Regions from separate parts of the Homo sapiens genome. Here region 1 is linked to region 2. The links are contacts of gene promoters, found by promoter capture Hi-C in human tissues and cell types (Jung and others, 2019). All regions are on one chromosome and are shown on one strand. Each heading gives the region's core, a stretch centred on a gene start or on the middle of the fragment in contact. The rest is flanking DNA. Distances are from core to core; before and after follow the strand shown. Region 1 has its middle 7.4 kb from the start of LENG8-AS1. Region 2 holds the start of PPP6R1 (protein phosphatase 6 regulatory subunit 1).

Region 1 (5,813 bases), core at 857-3,356, 820 kb after region 2:
ACAGACAGGGTTTCACCATATTGGCCAGGCTGGTCTCAAATTCCTGCCCGTCTTGGCCTCCCAAAGTGCTGGGATTACAGGTGTAAGCCACCATGCCTGGCCCCTTTTCCTATTTTTTAATCAGATTGTTTTCCTGTTAACTGAGTTTTAAGAGCCCTTTGTAAATCTTGGATAGCAGTCCTTCATGAGATAGGTCTCTTGCAAATAGTTTCTCCCAGGCTGCAGCTTTTCTCATTATATTAAAAATGTTTTTCAAAGAGCAGAGGGTTTTGTTTTGTTTTGTTTTTTGAGATGGAGTCTCGCTCTGTCGCCCAGTCTGGAGTGCAGTGGCGTGATCTTGGCTCACTGCAAGCTCCGCCTCCCGGGTTCACGCCATTCTCCTGCCTCAGCCTCCTGAGTAGCTGGGACTACAGGCACCTGCCACCACACCTGGCTAATTTTTTGTATTTTTAGTAGAGATGGGGCTTCACCGTGTTAGCCAGGATGGTCTCGATCTCCTGACCTCATGATCCGCCCGCTTCGGCCTCCCAAAGAGCTGGGATTACAGGCGTGAGCCACCACGCCTGGCCTAGCAGAGGGGTTTTTTTATTATTATTTTAATAAAGTCAAGCTTGTAAGTTTCTTTCATGGATCATGCCTTTGATGTATCAAAAAAATTATCACGGCTGGGCGTGGTGGCTCACAGCTGTCATCCCAGTATTTTGGGAAGCCGAGGTGAGTGGATCACTTGAGGCCAGGAGTTTGAGACCAGCCTGGCCAACGTGGCAAAACCCCATCTCTACTAAAAATACAAAAATTAGCCGGGCGTGGTGGCGCACACCTGTAATTCCAGCTACTCAGGAGGCTGAGGCATGAGAATCACTTGAACCCAGGAGGCAGAGGTTGCAGTGAGCCAAGATTCTGCCAGTGCACTCCAGCCTGGGCGACAGAGTGAGACTCTTGTCTCAAAAAAAAAAATTCACAAAACCCAGTCATGTAGGTTTTCTCCTATGTTATCTTCTAGGAGTTTTATAGATTTGCATTTAACATTCAGCTCTATGATCCATTTTGAGTTAATTTTTGTGAAGAGACTAAGGTCTGTGTATAGATTTGATTTATTTATTTTTGGCATGTTGATGTCCAGTTGTTCTAGCACCATTTGTGGAGAGAAGTTTGGAAGTTTGAGCATTTTTTATGATACCTTTTTTTTTTTTTTAGACGGAGTCTCACTGTCATGCAGGCTGGAGTGCAGTGGCACAGTCTCGACTCACTGCAGCCTACTCCTCCCAGGTTCAAGCAGTTCTACTGCCTCAGCCTCCCAAGTAGCTGGGATTACAGGCGTGCACCACCACACCCAGCTCCTTTTTGCATTTTTAGTAGAGACAGGGTTTCACTATATTGGCTAGGCTGGTCTCAAACTCCTGACCTCGGGATCTGCCTGCCTTGGCCTCCCAAAGTGCTGGGATTACAGGTGTGAGCCACCACGCCCAGCCTTATGATACTGTTCTATCTCTGCTCTGTGCCCACCACCACACCCAGCTAATTTTTGTATTTTTTGGTAGAGACGGGGTTTCACCATGTTGGCCAGGCTGGTCTCGAACTCCTGACCTCAGGTGATACGCCTGCCTCAGCCTCCCAAAATGCTGGGATTACAGGTGTGAGCCACTGCGCCTGGCCTTGTCTTCACTTTTGTTTTTTTGGTTTTTTTTTTGAGAGGGAGTCTTGCTCTGTCGCCCAGTCTGGAGTGCAGTGGCGCGATCTCGGCTCACTGCAAGCTCCGCCTCCCGGGTTCACGCCATTCTCCTGCCTCAGCCGCCCGAGTAGCTGGGAATACAGGCGTCCACCACCACGCCCGGCTAATTTTTTGTATTTTTAGTAGAGACGGGGTTTCACTGTGTTAGCCAGGATGGTCTCGATCTCCTGACCTTGTGATCCGCCCGCCTCTGCCTCCCAAAGTGCTGGGATTACAGGCGTGAGCCATCGTGCCCGGCCCACTTTTGAAAAACAGTTTCAGTGAGTATCGAATTCTAGGTTGACTACTTTTTTCTTTTGCTACTTTAAGAATTTTCTTACACTGCTTTCTCACATTGTTTCCAGTGAGAAATCTGGTGTCATCCTAATTTTTGTTCCTCTGTTTATAAAATCTTTTTGTTTTTCATCTGGCTGTTGTCAAGATTTTCTCTTTGTTACTGGTCTTAAGAAATTTGATTATGATGTATCTTGGTTTATCTTTGTGTTTCTTCTGCTTGGGGTGTGTTGAGTTTCTTGTATCTTTGGTTTTATAGTTTGTATCAAATTTGGGAAATTTGGGGTTATTATTTCTTTAAACACTCTCTCTGTTCCTTTCTTTCTCTCTCCTTATGGGCCTCCAGTTACACATATATTAAAATGTCCCACAGCTCACCAGTGTTCTTTTCATTAAAAAAAAATATATTCATTCCTTCTGGGGCAGGGCATGGTGGCTCATGCCTGTAATCCCAGCACTTTGGGAGGCCAAGGCAGTAGGATCACTTGAGCCCAGGAGTTTGAGACCACCCTGGGCAACATGGTGAGACCTCATCTCTACAGAAAATTTTTAAAGATTAGCCAAACATGGTGGTGTGCGCCTGTAGTCCCAGCTACTCGAGAGGCTAAAGTGGGAGGATCGCTTGAGCTGGAGAGGTTGAGGCTGCAGTGAGTCATGATCACGCCAGTGCACTCCAGCCTAGGTGACAGAGTGAGACCCTGTCTAAAAAGTAAAAAAAAAAAAATCATTTTTTTAAATGTTTCATTTGGACAGTTTCTAATGTTGTCTTCCAGATTTTTTTTTTTTTCCTGCAATGTCTAATCTGCTGTTCTAGGGCTGGGTGCAGTGGCTCGCACCTGTAATCCCAGCACTTTGGGAGGCCGAGGCTGGCAGATCATTTGAGGTCAGGAGTTTGAGACCAGCCTGGCCAACATGGTGAAAGCCCGTCTCTACTAAAAATACAAAAATTAGCTGGATGTGGTGGCAGGTGCCTGTAGTCTCAGCTACTTGGGAGGCTGAGGCATGAGAATTGCTTGAACCTGGGAGGTGGAAGTTGCAGTGAGCCTAGATCATGCCACTGCACTACAGCCTGGGCAACAGAGCAAGACTCTCCCCCAAAAAACAAAAATCTGCTGTTCCAGCCAGTACATTATTTATTTCAGACATTGTAATTTCTATCTGTTGATATCCAGTTTGAGTTTTTTTATATCTTCCGTATCTGTAAAGAACTTTTGGAACGTATGGAGTACAGTATAATAGTTGTTCTAATGTTCTTACCTACTAATTCTAACTCCTGGGTCCGTTTCAGTTGAATGATTTTTATCCTCATGATGTGCCCTATTTTCCTGCTTTTTGCATATTTGGTGACTTTGTTGTTGGATACTAGACAATATCAGTATTACCTTGTCGAGCACTCGTTACTTTTGTATGCCTATAAATATTCTTGAGCTTTGTTTGAGAATGCAGTCACCTTACTTGGAAGCAGCTTGATCCTTTCAGGTTTTGCTTTTAAGATTCCTCAGGCAGGACCAGAACAGTGTTTAACAGGTTAGGGCTGCTTATTCCCCACGGCTGATGTAAGACCCTCTCCGTGTTCTACCCAGTGTTCCTTCAGTTATGAGGTTCTTCTGGCAGGAACAGCGCCTTGTCAAGGCCTGTGTGAGTCCCCAGAACTCAGGCGCTATTTGCTTCAGTCCCTCCAGGTGGTTCTTTCCCTGGCATTCTAGTCTGCAGTAACAGAGGACCATGGACTGGTGGCTCAAAAACAACAAACACTTATTTCTCACAGTTCTGGAGGCTGGAAGTCCAAGATAATTTATTTTTATTTTTATTTATTTATTTTTTGAGATGGAGTCTCGCTCTGCTGCCCAGGCTGGAGTGCAATGGCGCGATCTTGGCTCACTGCAACCTTCGCCTCCCAGGTTCAAGAGATTCCCCTGCCTCAGGCTCCCGAGTAGCTGGGACTACAGGCACCCACCACTACACCCGGCGAATTTGTATATATTTAGTAGAGACAGGGTTTCACCATGTTGGCAAAGCTGGTCTCGAACACCTGAGTTCAGGTGATCTACCCACCTCGGTCTCCCAAAGTGCTGGGATTACAGGCGTGAGCCATCGCACCCGGCCCATAACTTCATTCTCAAAACAAAGCTCAAGAACAAAGCTCAGACTCCCTGCTTTGTCTCCTCTGCTCACGGAGTCCTCCCAGCTCCGCCTCAGTCTTCCCTCCCTGTCCCGTGGTCTAGAAACTTGCAACAGGACCCAGCGGCAATTTTAGGGCTTGCCTTGATGTTTCCCGTTCCTCAGGGATCACTTTCTTGGTAGAGTCTTGACCACTGTTGTTTTCTTGTATTTACTCTATTTTTGGGGGGTCAAGTCCAGTCTCTGTGACTCCATCCTGGTCGCAGTGGAAGCCCCCATAGGTAACATTCTAAAAATAACACTGGATTTTCCTTTTGTAAAGTTTGGGTAAAATGCCTTTTTTTTTTTTTTTTTTTTTTTTGAGACGGAGTCTTGCTCTGTCGCCCAGGCTGGAGTGCAGTGGCGCGATCTCGGCTCACTGCAAGCTCCGCATCCCGGGTTCAGGTGATTCTCCTGCCTCAGCCTCCTGAGTAGCTGGGATTGCAGGCGCCCGCCACCATGCCCGGCTAATTTTTGTGTTTAGTAGAGATGGGGTTTCACCGTGTTGGCCAGGCTGGTCTCAAACTCCTGACCTCAGGTGATCGCCTGCCCCAGCCTCCCACAGTGCTGGGATTACAGGCGTGAGCCAGGGTGCCCGGCCAACTTCTTGTTGAGAGATCACCCCCAGGCTCATTGGCATGGGAGATCAAGCAGCTGAGTCTCAAGGTACTTTGCAGCCGCCCAACAGCCAGCGGATGCCTGTGCTTGGGAAATGGGCTCAGGGGCACTAGAGGGCAGTGTTTGAGAGGAAAGAAGTCAGCATAGCAGCAGGGCCGGGCCTGGGGCAGACAGCCCACATGGTTAGGAAAAAGTGAGTGAACGCATGTGGCCCCCAGAACCCCTCCCTGAAATTGCAGTTGATTTTTATTCCCACCGTCAGGCCCACATATCTAAAGCTTCCTCTGAACGCTCCTTGCAGTACACAAAATAGAAATGATTGACAGGCACAGAGCAGCAGCAGGCCCCACGCTGTACACCAGCATCTGGCACTGTGGGTCACCAAGCACCAACTCGATCCCCTCGGAGCCAGGTGTGTGTTGAGATTCAGGATTTTTCAGTTGCAAAGGCAATATGATCTCTACTCCACAGGGCACACGGCACCCTCAGTGCTCAGCACAGCAGTGTGCAGCAGCCTGGTTAACTTTTCTGCAGGGAAGTATGTGAACGTTCACACCAAGCGTGTCAGTCATGTCTGTAAGTCATCTCCCACCAACACAGGTCAGGTTTTCCTGCCCAATGAGCTTGGGGATGGCTTGACTTTGGAGCTCTTTGGATCTGTGGATTTTGGAATTTTGGATTTCTGATACCCGTTTGATCAAAGAGGCAACCGAGGTCTAACGGGTCAAGTGACTTTCCCATATCCGTGAAGGTCATGAAAAGCAGGGCCAGGATGGTGGCCTGGGGTGCCTTGAATGATAAGCTGGGCCCTTCACTGTGCAGGCCCCTCTCCTTCAGTCCACTCTGCCACTGCTGTCTGCCACACCCTGCTCTGATAGCTCCTCTCTGCCAGGCTTTTCCCTCACATCCTCAACTCAGCCAAGAGCTGGTTTCTTCCAGAGAGCCCTGCTGTGCAGTCAGTTATTGGACTTCTCTTTTTGTGCATGTTTGTTTTCAGGGTTTAGCTGATCAAAGTGGTATCGTTGTAACA
Region 2 (5,854 bases), core at 2,482-4,981:
AATGCTGGAGGCAGGGTCCGGCCTCTGCACTCAGGCCCCTTGCTCCCTGCCCCTGCCCAATCCAGGAGGAGCTGGAGTTCTGTGAAAAGCTGCTACAGACCTGTTTCTCCAGCCCAGCGGACGACAGCATGGATCGGTGAAACCAGGTGGCTTCTTGCCCCCTTCTCCGTGGGAACCCCAGGCCTCTTGCCTCCCTCCCCACCTACAAGGCCCTCTCCCAAGGGATCGCAGGGCCTAGGTGCCTGGACCCAGGGTGTGCCAGCCCGTCTCTGTGCAGTCCCTGGAAGGGGCGCTGAGAAAGGCACCAGCTCCTTGGACCCCACCTCCCATGCTCTCACTCTCATCCCCGTTCTCTTGTCCACACAGCTCTTCCAATAAAGGTGTTTCTCTTCCTCCTTCTCCTCCTTCACTGCCGCCTTTGTCATCTCCTTTGGAGGGTGCATGGGGGACGGGAGGAGGGGCACGGGTTTAAGGGACTTGGGGAGCCACTGGAAGAATAATAAAAGTGTTGCTCTTTATCATCTATAGAGCCATTGTGTCATTTACTCTTCCCTGTCTTTCCTGAGCAACAGTGTGTGGGACATCTGTCCTTTTTTCGGCCACCTGGCAAACCTGAATTCTAGGTTTGAGGAATTTCCCAGGTTAGACATCTAAATTTTCCCTAGGGTAGCCGCCATTTCCCTTCCCAGCATCCTTTGCTGTAGGGTAATCATGTGACATTAGCTCCACAAATCAGAACTCTCTCTGGGAATCTGTTTTGTACACCAATCAGAACCCGCTGGTGGTCTAGCTCCTCTACCAATCAGAGCCCGCCGGTCGTCGGGCCAAGAGTTGGCGGTGGAGGGGCCCCTGCCCAGGTTCCCTTCTGGCTAGTGCAGGAGCAGCCACACCTGGCTTCTGGACAGGGCTGGCAGAGATTCTGGCGGGAGTGTCTGAGCCAGGTGCCGTTGATGGAGGCTGCACTGTGTCTCAGGAGCAGGCCTGTGGCTGGGTGTGGGCTTCATTCCTGACTGCAAAGCGCCAAGCGGATTCTGTAGCTTTCTCAGAGACGTGGGATTGGGGCGGGAGGTGGGGGTGTCGGAGGCTGCCTCAATTCCTTTAATAAATTCCTTTTCTGTTTAGCTACAAGAAATTTTGTCATTTGTAGACAAGAGCTTTGAAAGCTGTTGTTTTTCCAGAGAGGAGGCTGAGCTCAGAGGAGGCTGACCCCTGACCAAGTTCACAGCCAGGATTCACAGCTGGACTAATTCCAGAGCGATCCTCCTCTTTCTTTTTCTTTTTCTTTCTTTTTTTTTTCTTTTGAGACGGGAGTCTCACTCTGTTGCCCAGGCTGGAGTGCAGTGGCCCGATCTTGGCTCACTGCAGCCTCCACCCTCCGAGTTCAAGAGATTCTCCTGCCTCAGCCTCCCAAGTAGCTGGGATTACAGGCGCCTGCCACCGCGCCCGGCTAATTTTTGTATTTGTAGTAGAGACCAGGTTTCACCATCTTGGCCAGGCTGGTCTTGAACTCTTGACAGGGTGATCCACCCTCCTCGGCCTCCCAAAGTGCTGGGATTACAGGTGTGAGCCACTATGCCCGGCCAATCCTCCTCTTTCTTGTATCCTGGTTTCCTAGGACAATTTGATGTCAGACTCATTCCTTTTGTGTGGATTGTTCTGGTGGATCTGGGATTTTTGAGTCTATTTGGATTGGTTTTTATCACTCCTCTTCCTAAATCCAGGATAAATTGAGAGGTAGCTGCAGGATCTGAGATCCTGTCTCAAGAAAAAAGTTCCAGTTGTAGTCCCAGCTACTCGGGAGGCTGAGGCGAGAGGATTGCTTGAGCCCAGGAGTTCGAGGCTGCAGTGATCTGTGATCGTGCCATGCACTCCAGCCTGGTCGACAGAGCCAGACCCTGTCTCTTAAAAAAAAGTTTCAATTCTAATGCAAACACAATGTATATCTGTGAGTTCTGCTGGGTGGAAATCCAGACTTCAGTCATTAAAGCCCCCACAGCTTCCCAGCTTCCATTTGAAGGGTAGGGACTATAGCCACATCCTTATCCCTCAGTTCCTGACCTCTGTGTTAAAACAGTGTGGCAATGATGCCATCATATTGTGGAGAAAACAAGGAAGCCAAATGCTGGGTAAAAGACAAAACATCTCTATAGAAAAAAGAGAAAAGGAAATGCCTCTCTGTGATGGTTCATTTCAGGTGTTGACTGGGCTAAGGGATGTCCAGATAGCTGGTAAAACATTATGGGTGTGTCTATGAGGGTATTTCTGGAAGAGACTAGCATTTGAATCGGTAGACTGAATAAAGATCTTCCCTCCCCAGTGTGAGCTGGCATTATCCAATCCATTGAGGGTCTCAATAGAACAAAGAGGGCAAAGGAGGGGTGAATTTGCTCTTTTTTTTTTTTTTTTTTTTTCTCGAGACGGAGTCTCGCTCTGTCACCCAGGCTGGAGTGCAGTGGCCTGATCTGGGCTCACTGCAACATCCACCTCCCGGGTTCAAGTAATTCTCCTGCCTCAGCCTCCTGAGTAGCTGGGATTACAGGCGCACACCGCCACGTCCGGCTATTTTTTGTATTTTAGTAGACACGTGGTTTCACTGTGTTGCCCAGGCTGGTCTCAAACTCCTGAGCTCAGGCAATCCGCCCACCTCGGCCTCCCAAAGTGCTGGGATTATAGGCGTGGGGTCTTGAACTCCTGAGCTCAAGTACAGGCAGGCGTGAGCCACCACGCTGGGCCCTTTGTTTTTGAGACAGGTTCTCGCTCTGTCTCCTAGGATGGAGTGCAGTGGTGCAATCCGGCTCACTGCAGCCTCGGCTCAAGCGATTCTCCTGCCTTAGCCTCCCGAATAGCTGAGACCACAGGCGCGGGCCACCAGGCCCAACTAATTTTTTAAATTTTCTTTTGTAGAGACGGGGGTCTCCCTAGGTTGCCCAGGCTGGTCTCCAACTCCTGGTCTCATGCCATCCTCCGGCCTCGGGCCTCCTAAAGTGTTGTGATTACAAGCGTAAGCCACCGCGCCCGGCCAATTCGGAGTCTTAAAACAAAAACAAAAACAAAAAAGTTCCTCGCGCCCACACGATTTTTACAGTAGGCCTCTAACATGGGTAGAGAGGGGAGCTATTAAAGTTGGGGAAACCGAGGCTCAAAGCCAGAGGGACCTTCATCAATCTAGACACAAGGTCTAGGAGGTCTCTTTCAGTTGATGCTATTAGAAGCTGCTTTGGGCGGAACTGGCAACACCAGCGACCCGGCCGGGACTATCGCCAGCAGACGGAAACGACTGAGGGCCTCTGAGGCTCGGAGGCGGCTAAGCGCGAGAGCCGGACGGAACGAAGGCGCCTGGCTTTGGCTGGAGCGAAAACCAGGTCTGGATTTCGCAAGAGCCCGACCCTGGAGCCAAAGCTCCACTATGATTAGAGGAGACAGAACAGCGAACGGATTTCCAAACGGAGCGAGTGGGAAGGGAAATCCTGGAGCGGAATATTCACGGGGCCTTGGAACGGAGCCGGTGCGCAGCTGCGGCTCACTGAGCTGTCTGGGTTTATTCCGGGGCAGACCGTTGGCACCAACGGGCGCAAGCGCGTCTGCGGCGGCGGGGTTCAAGAGTGGGCGGTGTCGGGAGCGCCCGGGCGCACGCGCACTGCACCGCCCAGGCGTGCACCCCGCCCCCCGCACCTGCGCACCAACACAGCCGCGGGAGGGCGGGGCCTCCTGCGTCGTCCTGCGCTAGGGGGATTGTGGGATAGTGGCGGAGGGAGCCGGGCGTCGGAGGCCCTGAGGCCGGCCGCAGAGCCCGGAGATTGAGCGGCTTTGGGGAAGGGGTGGTTAAGGAAGTAGGCCTCGGCTTCCGTCGGTCGCTGCTCGGCTCTGCGGCCCGTTTGGACCGCGGAGGAGGTCGCCTTCCCCTCCCGTGGGGCGCTCGGTTGGACTGTGGAAACCGGGGCAACTTCCCCCGTCTTCCCGGCTGAGGCGCCTGCGTGGGCCTCGCGACCCGGCTCGCCAACCCGCCTCGGCCCGCACGCCCACCTCGCCTGCGGACCCCGGAGGTGCCTACGCGGACTAGTGACGCCCCCCGCCCGTCGGCAACTCCACCCGGCGCTGACCCCCTCAACTCTGCAGGACCCGGCGCGCGAGGACCCCACGACCCGCGGGCGCCTGCGCGGACCCCGCGAGCCCCGGCGCCTGCGCGAGTCCCCGACGCCGCCCCCGCCCCCACTCACCGGGCCCCGCAGCAGGGGCCGGAGCCGCCGGCGGCGGGGCGGGGGGGGGCGCCCCGATGAGCCCCGAGTGCGAGGAGCCGCCGCCCCCCCTCGCAGGTGAGCGGCCCGCGTCGCCCGACCCTCTCTCTCCAGGGCCAGGCGCCCACGTCTTCCCCTCTCCGCGTCCCCTCAGGCTTTTCCCTCTCGGGACCCCCGCGGGTCTTTTCTGCTTCGGATCCTTTCCCTCCTTCCTTCGGGTTTCCTCTCCACGGCACCCCGTTTCTTCCCCCTCGACCCTCCCCAGTCTCTTAATCTCTTCACCTCAGCTCCGCCGCCACCCTAGTCTCAGTCTCTTGCTCTCGGCCTTTTCCCACTCGCTCTCTGCAGCTGCGCTCCCCAGTCCCTGAGCCTCAGCTCCGCTCTCTTGCCTCTCTGGCCGGTTCCCCGGCCCCCCAGGAGTCTTTCTCCCTGGTTACCCTGGACTTTGCCTGCTTACACCCTTCCCTCTCGCCCCGATCTCTGCCCCGCCACCTCTTCCGTGGCGCAGCCTCCTTAGATCCCCGGAGCTCAGGACTGGAGGAGCGGGGCTTGTTTTCACCTTGACCGACCCTCTCCCGCCTCCGGCTTCTTGTGCGAGGGACCTGGGAGCGGGGCTTCTCTGGAGCAGCCACCACTCGGGCCTGCTTCAGTGAGATGAAGCCTGCTGAGGGCAGGCAGGGAGCCTGGCGCTGGGCACCGAGGAGGGGGCATCAGCCCTAGGCCCTGCCCTGGAGGTGGGGCCGGTCCCTGGAGGGGGTACAAAGGCAGAGCCGGACAGTCACAATTCCTGCGTGTCGTGATCGAGGTGACTTAGGGAGCTGCAGGGGGCCACAGAGCGGGAGGCACTGGTGAGACTGACTGGACGGACGGCTTTTTCTGTCTAGGAAGGATGAGTAGGAGGTGACAGATGGAGAGTGGGAAGAAGGGCCTTCCGGGGGGGGAAGGAGCAGCACGTGCAGATATGTCAAGGAAGGAAGGTCGGAGTCCTGAGTGCAGATGTATTGGGAGGGTGAGGGGCAGAGTAGTTCCGCCCGGCGTGCTTATCCAGGCCTCGAATGGGACCTCTGGTTGGGGTCTTTCTTGCTCGCTCGTAGTACACACAGACATGACCATAGACACCCGCCTGAAAGGCAAGATGTTTCAGGAAAGGAAGCTGCGTAGACTGTCAGGTGCGGTACTGGGTTCACAGTTGTAGAGAAACTGCAGTGGGATTTCATCCAGCCCAAGGGCGAGGGTCTAACTGTTAGCGTGCGCTGCAAATGCAGCAAGGACTCGAGATTGCCTGGATAACACAGGATGAGGACTTGGTTTACATACATGCACAACACACATGGAGACACGGCGCCCGGCCACGTGTGCTTACTAGTGGTGGGATGGCTGTTGGAGCTGCTTGTGCTGTTGAAAATGTTATGCTTTTTTTTTTTTTTTTTTTTTAACTCTAGTTCTGGGATTGGGATCATGAGAAGGCAGTCCAGCTAATTGTTAGAGGATCTTTTGCCAGACAGACCTAGGCCGAGTCCGGCTTCTGCCAAGCGAGACCTTGGACAAGTTGTTCCTCGTCTGTAAGTGGGGATAGCAGACTGCTCTCCTCAGAGGGTGGATCTAGGGATTAAGTGCAG

The links. Contacts are between HindIII fragments. The study calls those that stand out against the background at their distance.
Region 1: a contact is called between a fragment that was not itself captured here and the fragment with the promoter of PPP6R1 in region 2, in 1 of the 25 tissues and cell types used here (dorsolateral prefrontal cortex).

Annotation. Positions count from the first base shown.
Region 1 is chr19:54,438,695-54,444,507 of GRCh38, reverse strand. No RefSeq gene overlaps it. Among named protein-coding and RNA genes, the nearest start is that of LENG8-AS1, 7.4 kb to the left of the region's middle. The HindIII fragment of the contact is 7,065 bases long and covers 1-5,638 here.
Region 2 is chr19:55,256,894-55,262,747 of GRCh38, reverse strand. PPP6R1 (protein phosphatase 6 regulatory subunit 1) reads left to right here and starts at 3,731. Exons shown (of 24, transcript NM_014931.4): 1 at 3,731-4,313. It overlaps HSPBP1 (HSPA (Hsp70) binding protein 1), which reads left to right. Exons shown (of 8, transcript NM_012267.5): 8 at 66-525. The coding sequence ends at 140. RefSeq lists enhancers at 3,094-3,143, 3,224-3,273, 3,304-3,503, 3,509-4,483 and silencers at 3,333-3,627, 3,534-3,813, 3,944-4,043, 4,214-4,273, 5,458-5,651. The HindIII fragment of the contact is 34,304 bases long and covers 1-5,854 here.